Regions from separate parts of the Homo sapiens genome. Here all the other regions are linked to region 2. The links are contacts of gene promoters, found by promoter capture Hi-C in blood cells and fetal thymus (Javierre and others, 2016). All regions are on one chromosome and are shown on one strand. Each heading gives the region's core, a stretch centred on a gene start or on the middle of the fragment in contact. The rest is flanking DNA. Distances are from core to core; before and after follow the strand shown.

Region 1 (4,115 bases), core at 1,050-3,549, 260 kb after region 2:
ACTAGTTTAAGAAGGACTAAGAGACTAAATCCACTATTGCCCAGGTGATGAAAATGGCAGTGCTGGGCTAGAACCCAAGAATTCCCAAGGAATTTTGTTAGGGTAGGGCAGAAAGCCAGGGGCAGGAGCAATGCTGGTGGGGCCTCACCTTACAGCAATAGTGCATGCAGCAGAGAGAGGGCAGGTCGTCGTCACACCCCAGGGGGCTCACACAGACGGGGCAGTGGTCAGGCCGTACGGGTACAGCCTGAGCCTGGTGTACGCACAGCCCAGCTGCCAGCAGCAGTGGCTCAGGGTCCTCACTGTAGCTCTGCAGCAGCTGTTCAGCGCCCCAGTGGGAATGAGCCAAAAGGTGCTGAGCGACATCTGGCTCTAAGTTCAGCGTCTCCTGCACCTGACGCACCGTCTGCTTCATCAACCCTTCTACTTCCTGGGGGCTCATGGTGCGGCCTGCAGGCAGCTGTAGAGATGCCAGGGTAGCCACAGCTTCTGGGCTTGTGGGGAGGGAAGAGACAGAAGTCAGTATTCCTGCCCTGCTATCCAGCCTACTAACTGAACCCCACCTGGCCCCCAGCTCCCTCTTTGAGCATACTTGCTCGCTTGCCTAAGCAGCCTCAGGATAACCACCCAAACCAACCGTCAGAGCAGATCCTCCACAGAAGCACCTGTAAATGTCAGGGTGGGGCTGGCTGTTGCAATGACTGGGGACAAAATAGGTATCTAGGGGTCAGGGTGCTAAGAGACCAATAGCTGATGGGACAGTCCCACTGTAGGTCTCACCCCAAATGGTGGCAGCACCTGTAGTGAGAACAGGAGTCTCCATCCTTACTGCTCAAGTGTGGTCTGTGGACCAGCAGCACAGGCAGCACAGAGAGCTCTGCTGTTAAATCTGCATTTTAACACTGGCGCCATGTTGAGGTTTGAGAAAGATTACTCGCGATAATTCACTTTACACATGATGCAAACAGCAGGCATGAAAAGCAGGGCCATAACAGCTTCCAATGAACATTAAAAAGCTTTAGGGGTGCTGGTTGATTAGAGAAATCCTATGGCAAATTCCTCTGTAGAACAAACTTCCTGAAAGTTTGTATATTTAACTGAGTAGAGTACATAGTTAGCACTCAATACATATTTGCAGGCCTCTGATTGGAAAGGGGTGGTGGTGCTGGGAGGGTCAATAAAAACTACCAAAGTCAGGGAAATAACAGGGATAGGGAAAAGGGGATCAGACAAAGAAAGAAGGGAAGTGTTTCTCCACAAGGGATCTTGGCTTTGGCATGACCACCTCTCCCGCCTCACTGCAAGGGGTCAGGTGCAGTGGCTACCTGGGCTTGGAGGTTTCGCTCTGGCTGCCACAGAAAGGGACATCTGCCTGACCCCGGCAGGGCCCCATGGGCTCTGGAGCGGCATACATCAGGATCTGGGGCCGGTCATCACGCCGTTTCACGTAGCCCTGGCCTAAGAGGTGCAGGATGCAAGAGAGGACATCTGTACTGGTACAGGCCACACCCCCAGCAACAGTGTGGCCCAGGGTTCCAGGAGGATTTGGACCCTTCTGCCAGGCCTCCAGCACCTGGATAGGAGGAAAGAAACAAGAAGTCCACTTTTATGTAGGGAGCAGGCTGCTGGGCTCAATGCCCAGCTCTGCCACTTATTTTTCCCCCCCTTTTTTTTTAAGAGACAGTCTTGCTCTGTCACCCAGGCCAGAGTGCAGTGGCCTGATCACAGCTCACTGCACCCTCAAACTCCTGGACTCAAGTAATCCTCCTGCATGAGCCATGGTGTCTGGCAGCTCTGCCACTTACTAGCTGTGTGATTGTGGATTAGTTACTAAGTTTCTCTCTTTTTTTTTTTTCCCAACAGTCTCACTCTATTGCCCAGGCTGGAGTGCAGTGGCACCATCTCTCACTGCAATCTCTGCCTCCTGGGTTCAAGTGATTCTACCGCCTCAGCCTCCCAAGTAACTGGGACTACAAGTGTGCACCACCACGCCTGGCTAATTTTTGTATTTTTAGTAGAGATGGGGTTTCATCATATTGGCCAGGCTGGTCACGAATTCCTGACCTCAAGTGATCCACCCACCTCAGCCTCCCAAAGTGCTAGGATTACAGGCATGAGCCACCGCGCCCGGCCACTACTAAGTTTCTCATACTTCACTGTTCTTATCTGTCAAATGAAATAAAATAACATTTCTAGGATTGTTGTGAAGATTAAATGATGACTTTTTTTCTTTTTGAGACAGAGTCTTGCTCTGTTGCCCAGGCTGGGGTACAGTGGCAGTCTTGGCTCACTGTAACCTCCGCCTCCTGGGTCAAGCAATTCTCATGCCTCGGCCTCCCAAGTAGCTGGGATTACAGGCATGTGCCACCATGCCCAGCTAATTTTTATATTTTTGGTAGACACAGGGTTTCGCCATGTTGGCCAGGCTGGTATCAAACTCCTGGCCTCAAGTGATCCGCCTGCCTTGGCCTCCCAAAGTGCTAGGATCACAGATATGAGCCACTGTACCTGGCTGGATTAAATGACTTAATCATGCAAACTCTTAGCATAGGGCCTGGTTCATGGTAAACACTCATGCCTTATCTTTATCTGCTGTCTATCTGCTCTGTCAGGAACAGAAAACCCAGATGGAAATGTCACCCTACAGAAGTCTTATATTGAAAGAGTTCACTGTGTTCATCCCCAATCCCAAGCATGACTCCCTCCCTCCGCCAACTTCATGGTCCCCTCTCTGCCTACCAGACAAACCAGCTGATCAATGTGGAGGCCCTTTTCCCCATGGGCTTTGAGAATACGAACAAGAAGACAGCTCAAGAGATTCCTCTTCTGTTCCAGGGTTCGGCCTTCATCCTTCTCTACGTTCAGGTATGCCTGGGGAGGTATCAGCCACAGGGCCTCCCCACTGCGCTGGGGCCCAGGCTCATGAAGCCGCAGCACACCTGGAACCCGCTCCCGGTCAGGTACCAGAGGAGGCAGAGGGACAGATGAATGGGGACTAAGATGACCCCATTCTCACAGTCCCCCCATCTTGAGGGCGACCCCCCGACCAGCAGCAGAGGCTCAGCCCGGCCCCCAATGACCTACCCCCGTGTGGAAAGTCCTGGCCCTCATGCAGGGTCAAAGGGCCATTCCCTGAGGTGAGGGGCACGAGTGCCTGGAGCAGCAGCTCTGGGGAGAGGTCAGAATCCTTCAGCAAGGTCTCTACTGACACCTCCTGATGAGCAGAAACGCCCAGTCAGGAGTCAAAGGAAAGAAAAGGAAGAGGGGAGTAAGGATGAAGGAGGAACAGGGTTTAGGAGGAGAACAGCGACAGATAAGGTAGCAGAGAAGGCAGAGAGAGGCTAAGGGCTGAAGCACCTCTGTCTGATTGAATTTCAGCAGCAGCCACATCTGCACGGTGGACACATGCAGTATCTGCTTCCCAAACTGCAGCTCAGCCCGGCCCAGCCACGTCCACTGCAGTCGCCGATGTGGTCCCATGTCCAGGACTGGATGGTTCTGACCTAGGCAAGTGTCAAGGAGAAGGGTGGAGACACAGAATGGGCGAAACAAGGGGTTTAGGGGTTGAGGTGTCAAGCTTTGCTCCTACTAGTCCCTATGGGGAGGAGGGCCCCAGCATTTTCAGACAGAGAGATACCTTGTCAAGCTTCCAGATCTCAGCCTTCCCTGCGCCTGCCTCCCTGATGAGCCACGGGTATCTAGGAGCCCATCCCTAGACCCAGCGCCTAGCCCTGAGCCAGGCAGGTTCCATGCAAAAACACCAGAGAGAAAACACTTGCATTTTGCCCTCAAGGAGCTCACAGTTTTAAAGACCCACTGGGCTGGATCTCTTCCTCCTCCTGTTTCACAGCTCAGGCAAGGTGAGCCTGAGACATCTGTTCATACTGGAAAGCAAGGAAGCTGTCAAAGGGAGAGTATTAAAGGGACTAGGAGCCTGCCTGAGAGATGCTGTCTTACCAAAGATGGGACAATTTGAGAATCCAAAAAAAAAAAAATCCACCTGCAATGTGTGATGGAACCACACAAAATATTTTAAAATCTGTGAGTTCATAATGATATATTTTTAAAAGACCTCATTGGTTTTATTTAAAAGTTACTAGAGAACCACCATATTA
Region 2 (3,805 bases), core at 300-2,799:
TTCTCTGGCTCCAGTCCCTTTCCTTTCTCTCCAACACCAAATCCACTACCTCTCAGGCCATGCTTAGTTTGGCTACTGAGACTGATATTTTTCAAAAGTGGTTTGATGGGAAGATTACAAAGGAGAGAAAAAAACTACCAGAAAAGAAAAGAGCAAGTTCCATGATCCTTTCTTTGCATCACCACACTTGTCCAACTGTAAAGTAGCTCTCAAATATTAGGGGTCTCAAGGATAGGCAGTGCGGTGCTAAACATTCCCAGAGCTTTACATCAGTCCACTTGATCTCTTACCAGAAACTGATCTACATTTTTTCTCTCTAATCCCAACCTGCCTTTCCCTCACCTCTGATACCCCCACCAAAATCCACATCCCCAGAGGAACACTAATGAGCCCTTCTTACCAAAAAAGCAAAAGTAGACACACAGCGAGAATGAATTCAGGAGTCAGTGACAGCAGGTACCTAAATGGTCAGTGAACACGATCAGAATTTGTTTTCTCGTGACTCCCCACCATCTGTCACCCACAAATCTCCACTTCCAGGCAGGACGCCAAAGTGAAGAAGTGATGGGGATATTGAAGCAGAAACAATGAGCATGTAGGAAACTGCTTGTGACAGGGATGTGTTAACATCCTTCGGCCTGGTCTCTAGGCCTCTGTCCAGGTTTACTTGCATAGGTGAAGGCACACAAGGCTTAATTCTACACCAACTCTCAAAAGTCAGCCTGCAATCTACGCCAAACACTAACTTAAGGACCTCAGACAAAGGACAAACTCTATAAAAGTGAGCCCTTTTCAGACCAAATGTTTCTTGGCATCACTCTAAGCCCATGCATCCTCCTCCCAGGGAGCATGCCAGCCAGAAACCTGTCACTGGAAGCCACCTTACCCGCTCTGGGGTTGGACTGGGGCAAGTCGCTATCTCTTCTTCTTTCCAAGTAGGCACTGTAATTTCTTCCAGTCCCTGGGGCACCTGAATCTTCAGCTGAAATTGGGGCAGATGCTGCTAACAGCTGTGGAAAGGCTGATCTAAGCCTAGAAGAGGGTCATTTGACTGGCTTTAGTTCCCTCCTTAGCAGATCTGCCCGGCATCCTCCAGATCTCTCTTCCTCACTATCCCACTCTACTAGAAAGATCCCTTTCCCCTCTGGCCGGCCAGATACAGTCGGGCCTCTATCCCACGCTCCAGGCTTCTTTATTCGCGGCTAAGAAATTTTCCTCCAACTTGTGACTCTGCTTCTCCAGGGCCTGCACAACACCTACTTCTGGCTGCCCCGCCCCCAAATCCCCCTCCCCTAGGGCTGCCACTGGACCCTAGGGCCCCGGTCCGCCCCAGCTCCTTTTTTTCCTCTCCGCCTCGGACCTTACTCCATTCCATCTCCTCTTTTCAACCCTGGAGCCAGTACCCCCTTCGCCCCTACTACAGGCTAGGGCCCCCGCAATCCTCCCCAACTCTGGCTTCCCCGCCCGACTACTCCAACCCCACAACAAACTTTCCGCCGCTGCCAGCTGCGTTCAGGCCGCCATCTTGCCGCGGGGCAGGCCGGGTAGTGGCCAGGGCCGCGGGAATCCCCACGCACTTGGCGTGTCGCGTCATCTGAGGCGGGGCCATGGGGGCGGGGCCTCGGGTTGGGGAGGTGGGACACTAGGTAGGTGATGGTGAAAAATGGGGCTCTCCTGAAAGCAGGGATTGGAGGACTGGCCACAGAAGGAAGGAGGTGTCAGGAGCAGGGCAATAGCGGGAAGCGGGGAAAGAATCCAGTACTGAAAGAAAAAAAAAAAAAAAAAGAATAGGGGAACACATCTCAAAGATACAGTGGGAGAGAGAATCGTGCTACTGGTTCCCCGTCATCCAGAGAATAAAACCAGCTTTTCAGTTTGGCATTCAAAGATCCGCATGATCCAGGCTCTTCCACCTTCATCAGCCTCATTTTTTGCCTCTCCTGGGAACTTCAGGTTCCCAAATTGTCCTTTGTTTTCAGGACATCGGGCCTTAAGATGTCTAATCTCTCTCCTCCTCCTTTGCATCATCAATTCCTCCTATTCCTTCAAACCATCAGCTAAAATGTCACCTCCCCCAGAAAGATTTCCCTTTAGTGCTCCTTTTGCTGGGCATCACTAGCAACTTGTACATAGCTTTACTGTAGCTGTCCCGTGCAGTGTAATTATTTATTTACATGTTATACCACTTTTGCCCTGCTGCTTCTTCAGGGCAAAAACTATGTTTGATTGCATCTTCATACTCCCTAGCAGGTGCTTGGCACACAATAATTGCCTAATGAATAAATGGCATGTTTTCCTCCAATGCATTAAGCATATTTCTGCCTCAGGGTCTCTAAATTTGCTATTCCCCATACCTGGAATGTTCTTCCTCCAAATATTGACTCTCATTTGTGTCTTTGCTCAAGTGTCATCACTTTAGAGAAGCCTTCCTTGGCCACTCAATCTAAATCAGCATCCCTATTCTCCTTTACCCTGCTTTAATGTTTTCATTCATAGTACTTATCATTATCTGACATTATATTAAATATTTATTGTTTATTGATCATCTCCCCACTACAAAGCAAACTCCAGAGGTCTGGGATGTTTTCTTGCTCATCACAGTATCCCCAGTGTCTAAAACAATGCCTGGCATAGTAGGTATTCAATAGATTTTTTTTATTCTGTTTGTTTAATTAATTAATTAATTTTTGAGACAGGGTCTCACTCTGTTGCCCAGGCTGGAGTGTAGTGGTGCGATCTCGGCTCACTGCAACCTCCGCCTCCCGGGTTCAAGTGATTCTCCCACCTCAGTTTCCTGTGTAGCTGGGATTACAGGCGCATGCCAGCTAATTTTTTGTATTTTTAGTAGAGATGGGAGTTCCACCATTCCACCATGTTGGCCAGGCTGGTCTCGAACTCCTGACCTCAAGTGATCCACCTGCCTCAGCCTCCCAAAGTGCTGAGATTACAGGTGTGAGCCACTGCACCGGCCAGTAAATATTTATTGAATGAATAAATGGTATGGAGGTTGGTGATTGACAGATTTTGGAATATACTGGTGGAGAAGAGGGGTTGAAAATACTATAAAATAAGAAAATGCATAGATGGAAGTTACATGACCTCAAGGCCCCACTTAGCACTAACAGGAATGGTAGCAAAGACAAGCCCCAGACTCAGCAAAGGAGAGAGTGAGATGAGGATCAGGTGGAATTCTGCAGCTGGGTCCTCAGGGAGCACAGCCATCCTAGGAAAGCCCCAGGGCACCGAGCAGGCCAGGTAGAGGAAATGAGGAAGGCTGGAGGCCAGGAGTCTCCTCAGACCTAAAGACATCATCCACCCCGAGCCCAGGCCTCTCTTGGCCAGATGGTTCCGGAGAAGCATCTGTCCCTCCATAAATTATCCAGGGCCCCCTCCAGCCTATCCTCTCTGGTGACAGCCGGAACAATTGTCCAGGAATTCCATCTGCTCCCCTGTCCCTCTCCCCTCCGCAGCTCATCAACATTTCAGAGCAGCAAGGTATCCCATTTCCCTGGGCCTAGAGATGGAGCTGGTCTGCCCCTTGGTGAAGCTGATCTCATGTACCCACCCCCCATCAACGCACACACACAAAAACCTCAGCAGAGGCTTCCAGATTCCCAGAGGGAGAGGTCAGCCATTTTTATTTCCCATCCCATCCATGCCTTTCTATCCTATATATCTTTTTAAAAATTAATTTAATAAAATTACACTAACTAAACTAGCCTGGCCAACATAGTGAAACCCCCTCTCTACTAAAAATACAAAAATTAGTTGGGCATGGTGGCATGCACTTGTAGTCCCAGCTACT
Region 3 (3,748 bases), core at 63-2,562, 280 kb after region 2:
CACCTGTAATCCCAGCTACTCAGGAGGCTGAGGCAGGAGAATTCCTTGAACCCGGGAGGCGGAGCTTGCAGTGAGCAGAGATCGTGCAACTGCATTCCAGCCTGGGCGACAGAGTGAGACTCCACCTCCAAAAAAAAACCAGTTAAGCTTAAAACAAAAAAAGAGAAAGGCTTCCCTAGATGTCATTTCAATGAGTCTTCTACTGTCCAATAATACTGGGCCAAACCTAGCCCAGATGGATATGAATCCACATATGTTTAAAGCCATTCAAGAAGGCAATTTCCAGCCAGGTGCAGTGGCTCACACCTGCAATCCCAGCACTTTGGGAGGCCGAGGCAGTGGATCTCCTGAGGTCAGGAGTTCCAGATCAGCCTGGCCAACATGGTGAAACCCTGTCTCTACTAAAAATACAAAAATTAGCCCGCTGTGGTGGCAGGTGCCTATAATCCCAGCTACACAGGAGGCTGAGGCATGAGAATTGCTTGAACCCAGGAAGCAGAGGTTACAGTGAGTCGAGATCGTGCCACTGCACTCTAGCCTGGGAAACAAGAGCAAAACTCCATCTCAAAAAAAAAAAAATGCAATTTCCTTGCACATATTCCACAGTCTCCCTCTTCTTGGTCGGGAAGTTCTACTTAAGACCTAACTTGAGCACAATGCTTGCTCATTTCCTGAAGTTTCCTTGTATCTTTCCAGTAAGGAGCTGATATGTAAACCTGGCTGGCACTGTGTGATTCCTCTGCAAAACCACCCCTCCACAATGGTACCTGCACGCTCAGGGCTGCCCGGCGGCTCTGAGTAGCGATTGAGAAGCATCATGAGGATGGTGCGTGTGGTAGGCATAGGTTCTGTTCTTGGTGCTATCCCTGAGTGCCTAAACAACGTGTCTCTCAGCTCTTGGGTTATAATCTGGTCTCCCAGAGTGTGGTGGTTGCACAAAAGTAGGTTGAGCAGGAGTAAGCCATTTCTCGCTGCAGAAGAGCACCTGGGAGGAGGGAGGTGACCAGGAAGAAACTGAGAGACCATGAATGCAATGGAAGCAGCAAAGCAAGCATAGAAGGCCGGGCAGCTAGGGAGCAAAGGGCTCCAGTGGGCCCTCTGAGCCAGGACATCTGATCCCCTGACCTTGGGCCACTCCTCCCAAACCCATAAAGGGAAGTCAGTGTGTCTCTGCCCTCTCTGGGAATCTCCCTATCCCCAATCCACTTGGGTTCTCCTCCAACAACAGTTGGCAGCGCCACCAATGCTTAATCCGGAGGTGACAGCGTGAGGGGAATTTCTGTGGAGTACATGAGCCTGGAGCACAGGAGTAGCAGGGTTTGGGACTAAGCAGGAGCCTGGAGTTGGGAAGGTAATGCCCTGACCCCTCAGTATTCAGCATCAGGATCACGGCTGCAGGGACAGTGAGGAGCAGGCTCTCAGAGCCCGGGCGTGTGGCTGAGTCGATGCTGGCGAAGATCTCTCTGGTCATCTGAGCATCAAACAAAGAGTGGATAGAATCTCGGCCAGTAACAAAAGTGGGGATCTCCGAGGAGCTGGCGACGGCCAGCATCTTCAGTGCCTGTGAGGGGGATGTGAAAGCAGAGTGAGGAGGGGGCAGAGTCACCATGAGGAAAGGTAGGCCTCATTCTAGACCTCAAACTTTGGGGCAGCTGAGCTGTTTGCAGATAGGTAGAGTAGGAGACAGAAATGGAAGAGGTAGTGATGGGACATCAAATACTACAAAGAGAGGGAAGGAGGGAGGGAGGAAGGAAAAGAAAAAAGGAAAGAAACTAAACAACAACAAAAAACTCTGAGACTGGATGGTAAAATCAGCCTTCCACTCCTCTTGGCCTCCAGGCTCGCAGCACCAAGGCTACCAGAGTGGGACAGCCGCCCCTCCTGTATCTTCCCTTCAGGATGGTGCCCCTCGCAGCATCTAGTTGTCTTCAGGGGCTTCTTACAGTTGTCTCCCATCTCACTTGCACTCCTTCCTTTGCAAAATCTCTCTTCCCTTGAGTTCCATGACTTCACATCCTCCTGGCTTTTCTCCTACCTCTCTGGTGTTCCTTTGCCCCAAGGAACTAAGGTTCCTTGTCCCCTTTCTCTGGACTCTGCACTCACCCACACTGAGGCAACCAGGTCCATTCACATTGCTTCAATTACCACCTATACACCAAGTCTCCAAAACCTGTGTCTCCTGGCCTTAGCCAGCATCCAGCCCTTCTAGATAAGACTTCTTGGTTGTCTCACAGGCAGTGGTTGGCATTATAGGAAAAATAATTGTAATGTGCAAACCTGTTTGCTGGGACTATAGAGAAAAATTAAATTAAAATAGACACTATACAATCAGAGTGGAGAATGTCTCTCCTGGTAAAAGGGTTGATTCTCTACAAGAAACCCATGAGAGATGGACTGGGCTAGAAATAATTCTCAGGACAATGCCTCTTGTAAGGCCTGGACCCTCCAAGCAACTTCTACTTCTCAATGAAGCTTTCTCCCTGTAGTTACACCACCCTCCCCTAGTTAGCTGAGTTCTGTAGACTTTAAGTTATTAACAAGATGATGTAATTTTATTTCAGGGCAAGATTTTTTTGAGATGAAGTCTCACTCTGTCGCCCAGGCTGGAGTGCAATGGCGCAATCTCAGCTCACAGCAACCTCCCGCTCCTGGGTTCAAGCGATTCTCCCGCCTCAGCCTCCCAAGTAGCTGGGATTACAAGCATGCACCACCACGCCCGGCTAATTTTGTGTTTTTAGTAGAGACAGGGTTTCACCATGTTGGCCAGGCTGGTCTCAAACTCCTCACCTCAGGTGATCCACCCGCCTTGGTCTCCCAAAGTGCTGGGATTACAGGCGTGAGCCACCACACTCAGCCATTTTTATTTTTATTTTTTTGTCATGATCTATAGTGGATGGCAATTGCTATGTTTTGGTCACGTAATTTGAGAGGATCAGGGAATTCTTTGAGCATGATGATCTGGACTATGAATGCCTGGCTGCTCTTGGTCCCATAAAGAAAAGCACCTCCCAGGCTGGGTGTGATGGCTCACACCTGTAATCCCAGCACTTTGGGAGACTGAGGCGGGCAGATCATGAGGTCAGGAGATTGAGACCATCCTGGCAAACATGGTGAAACCCCGTCTCTACTAAAAATACAAAAAATTAAGCTGGGCATGGTGGCACGTGCCTGTAATCCCAGCTACTCGGGAGGCTGAGGCGGGAGAATCGCTTGAACTCGGGAGGCAGAGGTTCCAGTGAGCCGAGATTGAGCCACTGCACTCCAGCCTGGGCTACAGAGCAAGACTCCGTCAAAGAAAAAGAAAAGAAAAGAAAAAAGAAAAAAGAAAAAAAAAGAGAAAAGAGAAGAGAAAAGAAAAGCGCCTCCTGGCCTCTCCCGGGACAGCCTGCTTTAAGAGGACACATGCTCCCGTTCATGCTGCTGCCATTATACTACTGGAATCCATTCTCAGAACTGCTCTGGCCGAAGCCTGCCTGTCTCCCTCAGGAACCCTCAGGCTACACAGAGCTCCTCTGCCCACACCACCCTACCAGCCAGCACTTCTGTCTGGAGTAACCAGGAAGCCAATTCTTCTGTAAGCTACTCTGGATAAGGGCCTTCCTTCCCGATTCTCTGGGCAATGGCAATGCTGGCTTTGTTTTACCCAAATCTAGTAACAGAGTATTTTCTATGTAAGGGTGCCACTTAGATAAAAGAGGAAAAAAAAATACTTTTGGTTTAATGGTCACATCTAGAAAATTAGCTTTTA

What was found. The method cuts DNA at HindIII sites, captures the fragments that hold promoters and counts their contacts. A CHiCAGO score of 5 or more calls a contact.
Region 1: a contact is called between a fragment that was not itself captured here and the fragment with the promoter of TJAP1 in region 2, in 2 of 17 cell types (erythroblasts and naive B cells). The highest score is 6.1, in erythroblasts.
Region 3: a fragment that was not itself captured here is called in contact with the fragment with the promoter of TJAP1 in region 2 in 4 of 17 cell types (naive B cells, total B cells, M2 macrophages and 1 more); the score reaches 5.7 in naive B cells.

Annotation. Positions count from the first base shown.
Region 1 is chr6:43,212,537-43,216,651 of GRCh38, reverse strand. It overlaps CUL9 (cullin 9), which reads right to left. Exons shown (of 41, transcript NM_015089.4): 27 at 3,358-3,503; 28 at 3,085-3,214; 29 at 2,740-2,939; 30 at 1,326-1,573; 31 at 149-494. Among named protein-coding and RNA genes, the nearest start is that of DNPH1, 15 kb to the left of the region's middle. The HindIII fragment of the contact is 2,561 bases long and covers 1,019-3,579 here.
Region 2 is chr6:43,475,314-43,479,118 of GRCh38, reverse strand. It overlaps TJAP1 (tight junction associated protein 1), which reads right to left and starts at 1,549. Exons shown (of 11, transcript NM_001350562.2): 1 at 1,491-1,549; 2 at 887-1,032. RefSeq lists an enhancer at 406-1,199. The HindIII fragment of the contact is 14,243 bases long and covers 1-3,805 here.
Region 3 is chr6:43,193,882-43,197,629 of GRCh38, reverse strand. CUL9 (cullin 9) reads right to left here. Exons shown (of 41, transcript NM_015089.4): 10 at 1,365-1,561; 11 at 768-985. Among named protein-coding and RNA genes, the nearest start is that of CUL9, 14 kb to the right of the region's middle. The HindIII fragment of the contact is 2,325 bases long and covers 150-2,474 here.